4 separate regions of the Homo sapiens genome follow, and regions 1, 2 and 4 are each linked to region 3. Evidence: promoter capture Hi-C in 16 types of primary human blood cells and fetal thymus (Javierre and others, 2016). All regions are on one chromosome and are shown on one strand. Each heading gives the region's core, a stretch centred on a gene start or on the middle of the fragment in contact. The rest is flanking DNA. Distances are from core to core; before and after follow the strand shown.

Evidence for each region. Contacts are between HindIII fragments. The CHiCAGO score rates a contact against its expected background, and 5 or more counts as called.
Region 1: a contact is called between the fragment with the promoter of USP14 here and the fragment with the promoter of METTL4 in region 3, in 1 of 17 cell types (erythroblasts). The highest score is 6.0, in erythroblasts.
Region 2: a contact is called between the fragment with the promoter of ZBTB14 here and the fragment with the promoter of METTL4 in region 3, in 2 of 17 cell types (fetal thymus and total B cells). The highest score is 10.7, in fetal thymus.
Region 4: a contact is called between a fragment that was not itself captured here and the fragment with the promoter of METTL4 in region 3, in 1 of 17 cell types (M0 macrophages). The highest score is 6.3, in M0 macrophages.

The regions. Positions count from the first base shown.
Region 1 is chr18:156,838-160,288 of GRCh38, reverse strand. It overlaps USP14 (ubiquitin specific peptidase 14), which reads right to left and starts at 1,732. Exons shown (of 16, transcript NM_005151.4): 1 at 1,575-1,732. The coding sequence starts at 1,590. LOC105371951 (a long non-coding RNA gene) reads right to left here. Exons shown (of 4, transcript XR_935081.2): 4 at 2,120-2,146. RefSeq lists silencers at 1,341-1,520, 1,791-2,060. The HindIII fragment of the contact is 8,571 bases long and covers 1-2,756 here.
Region 2 is chr18:5,294,013-5,297,167 of GRCh38, reverse strand. ZBTB14 (zinc finger and BTB domain containing 14) reads left to right here and starts at 1,442. Exons shown (of 4, transcript NM_001243702.2): 1 at 1,442-1,516. RefSeq lists enhancers at 234-393, 111-796, 1,485-2,171, 2,172-2,859 and silencers at 604-1,023, 1,104-2,043. The HindIII fragment of the contact is 2,257 bases long and covers 40-2,296 here.
Region 3 is chr18:2,569,917-2,573,351 of GRCh38, reverse strand. It overlaps METTL4 (methyltransferase 4, N6-adenosine), which reads left to right and starts at 1,847. Exons shown (of 9, transcript NM_022840.5): 1 at 1,847-2,203. It overlaps NDC80 (NDC80 kinetochore complex component), which reads right to left and starts at 1,795. Exons shown (of 17, transcript NM_006101.3): 1 at 1,669-1,795; 2 at 266-375. The coding sequence starts at 366. RefSeq lists enhancers at 1,790-1,949, 1,832-2,754. The HindIII fragment of the contact is 2,186 bases long and covers 1-2,093 here.
Region 4 is chr18:248,220-251,704 of GRCh38, reverse strand. The region is part of intron 9 of THOC1 (THO complex subunit 1); the gene reads left to right. Among named protein-coding and RNA genes, the nearest start is that of THOC1, 18 kb to the left of the region's middle. The HindIII fragment of the contact is 2,075 bases long and covers 459-2,533 here.

The DNA of each region.
Region 1 (3,451 bases), core at 483-2,982, 2.4 Mb after region 3:
TTTTTCACCCAGACTGAAGTGCAATGGCGCGATCTTGGCTCACTACAACCTCCGCTTCACAGGTTCAAGCGATTCTCCTGCCTCAGCCTCCCCAGTAGCTGGGATTACCGGCACCTGCCACCACTCTCGACTGATTTTTTGTATTTTTAGTAGAGACAGGGTTTCAACATGTTGGCCAGGCGGTCTCGAACTCCTGACCTCAAGTGATCCGCCCGCCTCGAGCCTCCCAAAGAGCTGGGATTACAGGCGTGAGCCACCGCGCTCAGACTAGATACTTAATTTTCTACTAAATCTTATGAAATAGTACTTAAAATGTTCTCTTCATTTTAATATAGAGCTTTTTGCTGACCCTCAAAATACAGATTCTCAATATGGAGAGGTCAAAGGAAGGGACCTTAGAAATCTACTTGAGTTCCTTCATTTGGGGGATGAGGAAAAGATCTGATTAAATATTTAAGATAAAGCTCAAATTTTAAAAAAGAAACTCTGGTCAGCGCTGGCATTTTGAGGAAACAGAGGGGTTTTGTTTTATGTGTGTGAATCTACTGGTGTGTTTAAGTATTAGAATATTTCAAGAGCCATTCTACTGTTGTTATGGCTTTAGAAAGGGGTTGGGCAATCATTAAGAATTCGATTCAAGATTCTAGACCATCAAGAATCCACCTTGAGATCAAACAATACTCTTGATTCGTATCATGCTTTGTAAATGCTGAATCTTCAATAAAGGAACTGTAACAGAATAAACAGGGATGGTCAACGAATCACACACCTACAGCCAATTGGAGACACCACACATATTTTAGGTGCCATTTTGAATAAGGCTAGGGAGCAGCAAGGTCCATTCCCTAAGTAAAAGTGATCCCTGGCCAGTACCCTGGACTGTCAGCAAGCAAACAATACAAGCCCCTGTCAAACGCCAATCAAGAAATGACACCCCGGGGATATGTGTATTCATCTACTTCTGAAAGCTCACACCACGTTTCGGATACAGAAATCCAATGCAACGTTTGATGAAACGAAAACGAAGCAAAAAGGTTTACAATCTGCCTCGGGACAAAACTAAAACTGGTACCAAAGGGGCGGTCGAACAAAGGCAAGGGGCAAGAGAAGGGCGAAGGACGACGAAGGGCGGCGAACGCCGCTTGGCAACCCCAAGAAGGGTCGCTCCATCCCTCCCCTTCTTCCCCGCTCCCTTCCACGGCGACCACTGAGAAGCCCAAAGGAATCTCCCTGCACCTCCAGCCTGGCCCAGCGCCCCAGGACACACCCTCACTTTCACCGCACACCAGGGCAGCGTCAGAAACTATTCTGCAGAGTCACGACTTTGAGAGGCTTCCCCATCTCCACTCCCCCCACCCATCGGTGGCTCAGGGGGACGGCGCTCCCCTGCCACGCAGGGCTCCGACCCAGCCGGGAGAGGGGACGGTGCCTGGGTCATCTCCGCGCCGCCGGCCCCGCGCACCCCACCCCGGCCCCTCCCAGTCCATGCCGGGTGCCCGCCCGTGCAGGCCAGGCCTACGCGGAGGCCTAGCGCCGGTCCGGTGTGCTGCGCGCGAGGCCAGGACAGGGCTCACCGGAGTAGAGCGGCATGGCGGGGCGCGGCGGGAGGCGGCGGCGCAGGAGAGCTGGGCCTGACGAGGGCGGCAAAGGGACGGGGACCAGGAGCAGCTGCGGCGGCGGCCGAGGCGGAGGCGCGGTGGTGGCGGCGGCTTCGGTGCGACGAGTCTCATTCAAACCGGCCACTGGCGATGACGCAGCAACACGCAAAACACCCGTGCAGCTCCGGAGCGACTGCAGCGAGGAGACTGGGCGGCAGGACCGGGGCGGGGCCTAGAGGTGGCGAGAGGAGGGAGGAGGGGGAAGGCGGTGGAGGGGTGGCGGGAAGGAAGGAGGGAGCAAGTGAGGGACGGGCGCGGGGCCCCATCCACCGCAGCAGGTGCGCGCCTGCGCACTGCCGCCCATCGCCCTGCGCGCACTGGCCACGTGGTCCTGGCGCGGCCCAGCCCTGCGGCAGATGAAGTGGGAACTTGGTATCCCACCTGCTGTCTGAGGCTGAGGCGGGAGAATCGCTTGAGCCCAGGAGGTCGAGGCTGCAGTGAGCTGTGATCGTGCCACCGCACTCCAGCCTGGGCGACAGAGCGAGACCCTGCCTCAAAATAAAATAAATAAAATTAGTGGTTGTAAAGTCAGAGGTGTTTTGAAACCCAGCTGTTACTAGCTAGCTGTATGATGTCTGCAAACCTCAGTTTTCTTTTCACCCACACCTCATTTTATTGCGTTCTATATATATATATTTATATATTTTTATATATTTATATATTTTTATATATTTATATATATTTATATATTTATATATATTTATATATATATATATATAAATTGAAGGTTTGTGGCAACCCTGGGTTAGTAAGTCCATCAGTTCTGTTTTTCTAACAGCATGTGCTCACTTCGTGTCTCTGTGTCACATTTTGGTAATTCTCACAATATTTTGAACTTTTTAAATACTATTATATCTGTTCCAGTGATCTATGATTACTATTTTAGTTGTTTTGGGGTGCCACTAACCACCCCCGTGTAAAACAGCTAACTCCAATGTTTTGTGTATTCTGACTGCTCTGGCAACAAGTCTTTTCCCACAAGGGTTCAAGGCTTGAGTTCAGGACACAACTGCAGGTGTGGTGGCAATAGCAAGAGAACTAGAATTAGAAGTGGAGCCCACAGATGTGACTGAATTGCTGCAATCTCAAGACAAAGCTTTAATGGGCAAGGAGTCGCTTCTTATGGATAAGCAAAGAAAGTGGTTTCTTGAGATGGAAACTACTCCTGGTGAAGACGCTGTGAACACTGTTGAATGACAACAAAGGATTTAGAATATCATAAACTATGGAACTGTTGATAAAACAGCAGCAGAATTTGACAGGATTGACTCTAATTTTGAAAGAAATTCAAATTTGAAAGTTCTTCTGTGGGTAAAATGCTGAACAGCACTGCATGTCACAGGGAAAACTTTCATGAAAGGAAGAGTCAATCGACGTGGCAGATTTCATTATTGTCTTATTTTAAGAAATTGCCACAGCTACCCCAAACTTTAGCATCCACCGCTCTGATCAGTCAGCAGCCATCAACATTAAGGCAAGCCCTCTGCCAGCAAAAAGATGATGATTCACTGATAGCTCAGATGATCCTTAGCATTTTTTAGCAGTAAAGTTTTGTTTGTTTGTTTTGAGACAGGGTCTCACTCTGTCACCCAGGCTGGAGTGCAGTGACGCAATTACGGCTCACTGCAGCCTCAACCTCCCAGCTCAAGCTATCCTCTCACCTCAGCCTCCTGAGTAACTGGGACCACACACGGCTAATTTTTTTTGTATGTTTTGTAAAGACGGGATTTCGCCATGTTGCCCTGGCTGGTGTTGAACTCCTGGTCTCAAGCAATCTGCCCACCTAGGCCTCC
Region 2 (3,155 bases), core at 193-2,692, 2.7 Mb before region 3:
ACTATCTTATGTCATCTTCAATAAGCCCAAGAGGAAGCTTCTGCTCTAATCTTTAGATATTAAATTACGCGTTTCGGGGAAACTTCGCGTGTGAGGTAAAGCAACATGAGCGACTCTAAGGCGGCGCGGCATTGCTGTCCGGCCTCCTGCATCTCGGTGAGCAGAAAACGCGGGAGCGGGAGGGACTTCCCAGCTCCCGACGCCAGACACAGGCACAGCCGCCGCGTCAGAGGGAAGGCGACGTGGTTCAACAGCAACGGAGCCATTACTGGCGCTGAGCAGGGATGTTAAGGACAGAGCCAAGTTATCAGAGCTCTCCGAATCGAGTCCAGGGTCTGGACTGCCACAGACGGGTCGCCGCCTCCAGCCCCTGGACTTTTCCTTGGAGTGTCCGGGCGCGGACCTACTAGCTCCGAAGCCCTATGGGTGATCCCTTTCTGCTGGGCAACTGGGGTTGCGCTTTACACTACAAATCGAAGACGTCGCTTTTTCCATTTGTTCTGCAAGTGTTTATTGTGCACCGTCCACTCCCCCACAAACTCAATGTGCCGGCGGCAAGAGGCAAGACCGCAGACCCGTGGGCGCGCCTCCCGGTGTCGGCCGGTGTGCGCGGAGGGCGAAAGTGGCCGGGGCGCCCGCTCCGAGACGCGGCAGAGCCCCGCAGCCTCAGCGCCCGGCCTGCGCGCGCCCGGGGGAGGCTCTGGCCCACGCACATGCACACGCACGGGAGCGCTGGCTCCCGCGTCCCCGGCGCTGCGCCGGCGCCGGGCGCGGGCGGAAGCCCACGAACCAGGGCGGGAGGGAGCTTGAGGCGGGGCGGGTGTCCGCGAGCAGCGCTCGTGCTTAAGTTCCCTGGCTCCCGAAGCCCCGCCCTTGCCCCGCCCACTCCTTCTCCCGCGCGCGGGCTCCGCGCGCCCCAAGCCGCGCGCGTGCGCGCGCGTGCGCAGGCCAGGGCCCTCCGGGGGCGGCCCCGTAGTCTCCAACGAAAGCGTCGGCAAGGGCCCGGATTAACCCTTTCTTTGCTCGCCCACTTAGAGACCCGGTCGGGTTCCGTGCCTGCGCAAGCCGGCGGCGCGCCTTCCCCCCAGCCCGCACCGCGCATGCACGGGAAGGGGGGGGCGGTGGGGGTGTTCACGGCCGGCTAGACATTCTGTGCTCGTGCAGGAGGAGGGCTGCTACCATCAGGGACGTGCACGATTTCCCCCACCCCGCCCCCTCCCCAAACTCCAAAAAAAAATCCAAAACACACTGCCACCCACCGTGCCCCCGCGCCCCGAGCCCCTCCGGTCCCGGCCTGCGTTTGCTAGCGAGCGCGGGGAACCCACGGCAGTGTCTGTGCCTGTGCCAGGCTGCAGGTAAGCGCGGGCCAGGGTGCGGAAGGGGCTGGGGCCGTCCGCAAGGCGGGCGCGGGGGCGGCCGGCGGCTGGCGGGGCGGCCCGGAAGACGCGCGTTCTCGCCGAGCTCTGGGGCACCAGCCAGCTCCAGGATGTGCGGCGGCCGCCAGCGGCGCGGCGCGGTGCGAGCGGGGACGGGCGTGGGCCAGGGTTGGGCGTGGGGCCGGGGCGCCCCGGGGGCCGCGCGGGCCGGCGAGCGGGCTCGGGGAGCGGCCAGGCGGCGGCGGCCCCGCGCGCGCGCTCGCAGAGCCTCGGCGGCCGAGTTCATGGCCGCCCCCGCTCGCACCGCCGCAGTGCACCGCGGTGGGGGTGGGGACGGCCCGAACCCAGCGCGGAGCGCGGCCCGCCGGGCGCCGCCCCTCCGAGCCGCGGGCCCCGCCGCGCCGCCTACAGCCGCCGGCGGAGGAGGGGGCCGGGACCCAGCGCACGCACTCCCGGGTGCGCCCGCGGAGCTTGGGTTAGCCGGCCGCGCGCCGCCCCCGCCCCCGGCCGCGGGAGGGCGGGGGAGGGCCCGGCGCGAGCTGGCCGGGGAGTGCGCGGGGCGCGAGCTCCGGGCTCGCGGGCGGAGCGGGGCGCGGCGCGGCGCGGGGCTGCGGAGCCGGCCGCACGCCCGCTCCCGCTCGTCGCGCCGCCGGGGCCGCCGCGGGCCGCAGTCCCTCCCTGCGCGCTCCGAGCCGCGGTCCCAAGCCTGCGCTCGACGTCTGATTATGAAAGGGAAAGTGGCCCTTTCACCACCTGGCTCCCAGGCTGGGAGCTTTTGTCTGGGAAGGAGTGCAAACGGCCTCCTCCACTCCCCACCTCCCAGGCCCAAAGAAATTGAGAGGGAGGACTCGATACGCCTTGAGGGCTTCTTGGGTCTGCGCTTGGCTCCCTGCTTCCTCCCGACTCCGAAGTTGCAAGCTTGCAACAAGGAAGTCGTGCAGCCGCCATTGTCGGGCTGCCCGGGGCAGGGGAGGCGGCTGCAGCTGCTTATGTAAGTTTTTGGCTTTGCGGGAAGCCCGGCTCCCTGCACTGTAACGCGGCTTAGCGCGCCCGCAGTTTGGAGAGCAATTAGGAAGGGGCAGCCTTATTATGAAGGTGGTGTTGGGGCTACGTCTTTTCCTACACCTGCCTACACAGATGCTGGCAACAGCTGTCTTCCAGTTTTGACTCACCTGAACTGAGCAATTGGACATCTCAATGGCAAGGGGGGCGGGGCGGGGAGGAGGCGGCTTTGGACACACATGGTCTCTCTTCCAGGTCTCATACATCTTGAGAGAGAGAGGGGAGAGGGGCGAGTGGCCAAGTACACACTAGCCAAAACAACAACAACACATTGATATGTTGTCATAGCTAGTCTAAGGCCACTCCTCTCTCTGGTCCCATGCACTTTTATCCCACAAGCCCTAGGACGAGTTAGTGACAACAGTAGTAAGTGTCACAGTGTAAGGTTTTTGCTGGGCTGCCTAGCCTCTGGATGATTACAGGCCTGGGTGCTTCTAGGGAATAGAGAGGCAGAAACACGTAGAATGATCAAGTCAGAATCATCTTTTGGAAATGTTGCCTAACCTCAAACTTCAGATGAGACATCCCGCTTCTACGCTGGGTAGCTCGGTGTGTTCACTTTTCTTTAGAAGGAGCTTATTATGGGTTTCAAGGTGTTGGTCTCCAGGTTGGAGTCTTGTTCCATGGTTTTTGTGTAAGACTGTTACAGCCCAGTCCTTTGCTCCTACCACACCAAACAACTTATCTGTGTGGTCACTGTTCAGTAGAGGAAACTTT
Region 3 (3,435 bases), core at 598-3,097:
ACTGAACAAGAATTAACAGTCCTTTTAGGGGGTGCCTGGTAAAGCATTTGGCTTTGGAAATTTGTGAAACAAATGACACAAACAACACCTAGCAGAGTATCATGCCCACTTTTAGATTTCATTGATCCAAAATTAGGTACCCCTGGGAACAGACAAGATTCACCAAGACATCACTCATATTACATCTTTATATTAACTATTTCTTATGATTTCTTTGCCTAAGATGATAAAGCATGCAAATTAGAACCACAAGGGAAATACTCACGTTTGAGGGGTATAGAGGCCTTGTTTATTTACATCCTGGGATCTTAACTCCTGCATGGAGAGGCGGCCAGCACCACCGCTGGAAACTGAACTGCGCTTCATGCTTATGACCTACATTCACGAATTCAGTATTTAAAAAAAACTTTCCAGACAGAGATGGTACATTAAGCAACTATTTATCCTTAAACAGAAAGACAGTCAGGTTTCATTGTTTCTTCAAGATCATCATCTTTCCCCTGGGGTATCTCTTTTTTGTTCATGTACACTGAAGTTCTCATTTGCAAGGAACATCTATTTAATTCCATTTAAAAATATTCAACATAAACATTTATTAACTGCCCACTATATATATAGGGGAGTGTGCTAGGCAATGCAGGAGATGCAAAGACGAGTAAGTTACGGTTTTTGCCTTCACAAGGGTATCCGTGGTAGCTAAAGCCCTGTCTGTTACCCAGACCACATTACTGCTGTTGGCTGTGCCTATTTCAATAGGAAGACAAAAAAATTACCTCAAATTCTCTTATTCACCTCAAAATGTTTCCTTTTCTTTGGTTTCAGAGAATGGAATTATTCTGTTTTCCTAATGTCAATCTCTCCTGCTCTGTCCTTAACCCATTGTTTCCTCAATTACTGCCCTTTTGGCATCAATCTCCCCTTCAACAAGGATAAATCATCCGGTCCATAAAATGGTCTATAGGCTGCCTCCATTTACAAACCACATTAACAGGTCACTCCCTTCACATCTGCTAAAAAATTTGTCTCCTAGGATACACATGATTGACAAAACTTTTGATCCTGTCTCATCTCTGCACCCAGCCTTCTCAGGTCCTGCCCTGGCTTTCAGGAAGGTGACAATCCTTTTACTTCTCTGGGTACTCCTTAGTCTTTTACACTGATTAGACTCTTCTTGATTTTGGCCGCCTATTTCCTCTTCAATATGCGCTTGTTCATCTATTCAACTTTTCCACTCACACCTGTGTGTCCACGTTTAATCTCCACTTAGAATGTAGCTCTCATGATTTAAGATGAAGACTTCTACACGCAGTCCTACACGGCCATAAGAAGCTACACTAGTATTCAGACGCAACCCACCCAACGAGTCCTCTCTTGTCCATCTCTTTCCGCCCCCTTCAATTCTTCCCCGTTTCCTCTCCCGAGCCTCCACTCCTCATCAGTGTCCCCCAGGCCCTCCCCTTTCCTCCTTGGGAAATCGTTGCCACTAGAAATTTAATAGATCCCGTGAAACCAGCGCCTCGCACAGTTTTGGCCTCGAGGCTTCTCCCAACAGCAAACAAACACCAAAACATCGCCTCAGGACCTCTAAATTTAAGTCATTGGCGCCATCACTTTCTTCCTCCAGAACAGCTCTGCAGAAACAAAGTTAATCCGATGTCATTCAGTCACCTTTTTTCCAGTTTCCTGACACGACCCAGGGACCGAATTTCTGTAAACCGTGCAAGTATCTGCTAGACAGGACAGCGGTCATCAAAACACCAGGTCCTTCCTCGGCCCGCCAAAGCCGTTCGAATTTGAAATTCTCCGCCGGCGCTGACGTCATTACGCACGACGCGCGCAGTAACTTCCATGCGACCGCCTCGTCGCTGGAAGGCTGCGTGCTGGTCGCGCCCAGCTGCGTCACCCCAGGAACTGGGGTCTGTGGGCCAGTGTGGCCGTCTCTACGAAGACTGGCACGACCCCTAAAGTTAGGTCGGAAGACCTGTGGGCAGCTTGAGCGCCGAGGAGTGCCCTGAACGCTCAACTCGCCCTGGAAACGTTTTTCCGTACAGCAACATGGCGGCGCCCATGGACTCTTAGAAAAGGAGAAAGCTTTTTCTCTGTGGACTGGAAGGGGCATTTTTCATGATCACTATTTAGATGGGTGCTGTTTTCATGAGGAGAGTCTGGGAAGGCGGCGTCCGCTTTTCTGACAAGGGAAGAGGTGAGGTGGGAGAGGGGCTGCGGAGTGGGTGGAATGGGCTCCCAGGATTGCGTTGGTACGGCTGCCGAAATTCGGGCTCAGTATTTGATCACTTGCCGGAGGCTCACGGTCCTCTGGTGGTGGCTGACCTGTGAGAGGCTAGGAAGAATCCAAGTGTTTGGGGGCGGGCGGCGAGGGAGTGGATGTGAAGCAGAGACGCAGGAGAGGGGTGCACTAACAACAGTAACAGTAGATCACTTTGCTAAAATAGGATTTCCTCGCTGCTGTGAGTTTGAATCCAGAAACAGGCACTGCCCGGTACCTGGAGAGTGGTGGTGATGAAAGATCTCACAGCTCCAGGAAGTCTGGATACTTGGGTCTGGTAGCAATTGTGCCATTAACTAGCGTTGTTATTTTTGGGCAGCTTGCCTTTCTGCTCTGAGTTTCAATTTTCCCGTCTGAATTTCTAGCTCTCACTAGCCATTCCAGGACCCTTTTCACCTCAGCTGTGGCCTATGAAGGGGATGGGGAGGAACCAAGGATTATATTAATATAAAAATTATATGAAAATTAGGCAACCGTCTGATAATAAAAAGTCTCCTTGTGGAATACTGTTAGGTTAAACTTTACCTACAGATTGTTAAATCCTTAGCACTAATGTTTTCCCCAGAAAAGATTAATGGAAACATCATTTGCTTTTCTGACTAGATAGTTGCTGCTTCCAAAGGTGGTTTTACACAAATACAAAATTAAAAACACCTTTAGTACAGAAATAATTGCTTGTATTTCGGTATACATTCACAGTACAGTTCAGCATTTAGTGGTCCTGCTAGCAATTTGCCAGGAAGTCAAGCCTGCCAATTTCCTGATATTCCTGCTGTGCACCCCAACTTCTTAATCCCTGCTGAGGATCTTGAGAAGCAGCAGCACCAAAACCAAAGTAGGCACCAAATTCAAGGTTCTTTTGGTTCCGGTTGTCACATTTCAAGCTAGACTCCAATAGATGGAAGGATGATCACATGTGAGCCCTGTTTAAAACTTCAATTTTTAAGAGCAAGCACAATTGCAGGAAAAGAAAACAATTCAGAGGGATCATGTGTGCTTACAGTTGTCTTCATGTGGCCTTTTCCCAGGTTTAACCACCAAGGACCCTGACAGCCGGGGTGTCTGAATAACCCTGGTGACTCTTTTCACCATATCAAAACCTGAGTTAAAAGGCTGATGATAACAGCAGAAGGTGGCAGGGCTGAGGA
Region 4 (3,485 bases), core at 247-2,746, 2.3 Mb after region 3:
ACATGCCAGTTATTTTCATGTACACCTCTTTGGGATGCAGGAGGGAATCTGACTACCTAGAGAAAACCCACACAGACATAGGGAGAATGTGCAAACTCTACATAGACCGTGGCCCCAGCCAGGAATCGATTTTTTTTTTCTCATCAACGTTACAATAAAACAATGTTGAAGGAAACATCGTTATTTGAAGACTTTCCATAATTTCTTCCTAGTGCTGGCTTAGAAGCAATGAGCAAGAGAAAAGAGAAGGCATTAAGGAAAATTTTCCTTCACTGGCACTCTTCCAGGTGTCTGAGGTGATGAGAGTCATTAGTTATAATTGAAAGAATTTCCATTACTGTCTAGAAAATCAAGATGGGATTCCTGTATCTGCCCAGGGAGATGTATTTCTGGCATCCCAGAATTCAAATTCAAACACATCTCCAGAAGAAACATTAGAGGTAGTGTGGCTCCAAGCTTAACTCCAATACTTCCTAGTCATGTGACCTGGGGCCAATTACTTAACCTTCTACAACACAGTTTCCACATCTTTAAAATGTAGTAATGCCACCTACTCTCTACAGTTAAGAGGATTAAATAAGACGATGATCAGAAATAGTCTATTAAGGCACTAATTGTTTATATGTAGTGGTAAGTGTAAAGCACTTAGAATATTGTCTATTCAGTGTCTAGTAGCTATTATTTGTTATCGTTATTATTTTTTTTTAGAGACCTATTTATTCATTATACATGAATAAAGTAGGCTTTAAGGTCTGGCCTGAGCAACATAAGGGCTCTGGGGCAAGTTAGTAGGCTACAAGATGATGAGTCACCTGAAGTGTAAACAGCCCAAAAGACACTGGCCAGTGCAGTTTTGTCTGCTTAGATTTTGCCTAAGACTGTATAGACAATTCATCCCTATTGGTTATGTTTGTAAATCACTTAAATAAGACTCAACACTCAGCTGCCTCTGTCACAGTCACTAATGTTGAATAGAGGGAGAAAATACGTGAGGAATTACTTTGTGACAGCTGTTATCACCAGATGGTCTTAGGCACTGTAATTTACAAAGCAGAACTCATTACCCATCTACCTACAATATGAAGTCCATTTCAGATTTGGCTCAAATACACCAGTAAACATTTTTGTTAAGAAATTTCAATGTATAACATCCTGTAAAATAGCTGAACATTTAAAAAAATATATCAAGTTTTCCAGAGTTTTTTTGGTTAAAATAGTTACAAGACATTCTATTTTACATAGTAACTGGGTCTCTGATTTGTTATTATTTGCAAATACAATAATTGGTTACATTTGCTTTGTGTGGGTAAACAGAAAATTCAAAAGTTTCTGTGGAGTGTTGAAGGTGGAAGGCAAATTGCAAGTGGGTTGAAGAATGAACAGGAAGGTAATGAAGTGGTGACATGGAGTATAGACAACTCTTTGAAGAATTTTATTCAGCTGTGAAGGAAAAGAGCAAGGGACAGCATCTAGGAGAGGGGACTTTAAATTTTTAAAAATATATTAATGCCTCAACTGTAAAAACTGCCTAACAGTAAGATATTAACACTACTTCAAAATTTATTCTGTAAGACACCTCAAATACCCACCAAGCCAATTAAAGATAAAAGGGAAGAGATCAAAAGTCTTTTACAGGTAGGAGATGGTAATTAGCAACATGGAATAATATTGTGATTGGTATTAAGTGTTAAATTAGATGTGAAGTTCTTAGCAATTGAGACAAAAAGGGACATATAATGGTTGCATGAGTCTCATTCTCTGTTAGAGGTAGCCCCATTTTTAAGAGACAAACTTTCCTGGTACATTTCAAGAGGTATTTATTATATTCAATCTTACATGTTGTAACTGAGTAACATTTTGTTACTCAGTGTGTGTGTGCACATGCACTTCAGAAACATTCTTTATCAAATGTATGGAACTATACAAATATTGGTTCTTGTTCTTTCATGAATGTAAATAATTTATATAGTGCTATTTCTTTTCTCTATTTACTTTAACGTTTTAGGGAATGTTCTTTTTGCGGCTTTTTTTTTTTTCTTTTTTGAGACGGAGTCTCGCTCTGTCACCCAGGCTGGAGTGCAGTGCTGTGATCTCGGCTCACTGCAAGCTCTGCCTCCTGGGCTCAAGCGATTCTCCTGCCTCAGCCTCCTGAGTAGCTGGGACTACAAGCACGCACCACAATGCCTGGGTAATTTTTGTACTTTTAGTAGAGATGGGGTTTCAGTATGTTGGTCAGGCTGGTCTTGAACTGACCTCGTGATCCGCCCGCCTCAGCCTCCCAAAGTGTTGGGATTACAGGTGTGAGCCACCGTGCCCAGCCTGTGGCTTTTTTTAAAAACCCAATTCATAGAAAACCCAGAGGTATAATCTTACTGTTGTAAATCAGTGAAGCTGCTTTAATTATAGAGAGAAGTTAATGTGTACATCATTGTTTTCCTACTTTCAGAGTTGTTACTAGGGAAAAGTTTAGGAAGAGCGAAAGTAAACATGCCCATTAGAGTCTTTCAGATACTACTAATTCATGATGAAAGCTTTGGCAAGAACTAGATTTAGATTTTTGTTAGTTAAAAGTCAGTATTCTTCACTGTTGATTTTCACGTGCTTCAGATACTAGCCGTTTATCAGATATTAGCTGTTTTAAAAATTAAAAGAATAGGCCGGGTGCAGTGGTACACGCCTGTAATCCCAGCACTTTGGGAGGCTGAGGTGGGCAGATCATGAAGTCAGGAACTCGAGACCATCCTGGATAACACGGTGAAATGCTGTCTCTACTAAAAATACAAAAAATTAGCCGGGCATGGTGGCGGGTGCCTGTAGTCCCAGCTACTCAGGAGGCTGAGGCAGGAGAATCGCTTGAACCCGGGAGGCGGAGCTTGCAGTGAGCTGAGATCGCACCACTGCCCTCCAGTCTGGGCAACAGAGTGAGACTCCTTTAAAAAAAAAAATTTAAATTAAAAGAATATGTATTGACACTGTAGATTTGTGACATATCAAGATTAGAAGTTGAATTAGTAGTGCCATAATAAAGTTACTAGATAAAGGGCTTATTTTTGTGATGCTAACTTGATATGTACCATATATGTTTTTCTCATACTGGTGCTTCTTAGGATATAATATTTTTAGTTAGGATATGATACCTGTGACTTTTAACATAGATTCAGATTAACATTGGTTTAAACAACATAAAAGTTGATTTTTCCCCCTCATATCGAAGTCTAGAAGCAGGCAGTCCAAGGCTGGTAAGGGAGCACTGCTCGGTGAGATTGCCTAGACCCAGGCTTCTTCTACCTTCTTCTTCCATCATCTTGGTGTTTGCCCTTTTTCCTGTAGTGCAAGGTGGCTCACGCTCACATCTGCATTCTAGCCAGCAGGAAGAGGAAAAGGCCAGTGATAAAATATGGCCCAAAAGTTGCACATATGACTTCCGCTCTCAACTGATTGGCCAGAATTTAATCACATGACCATGCGAGCAGCAAGATTGGTTG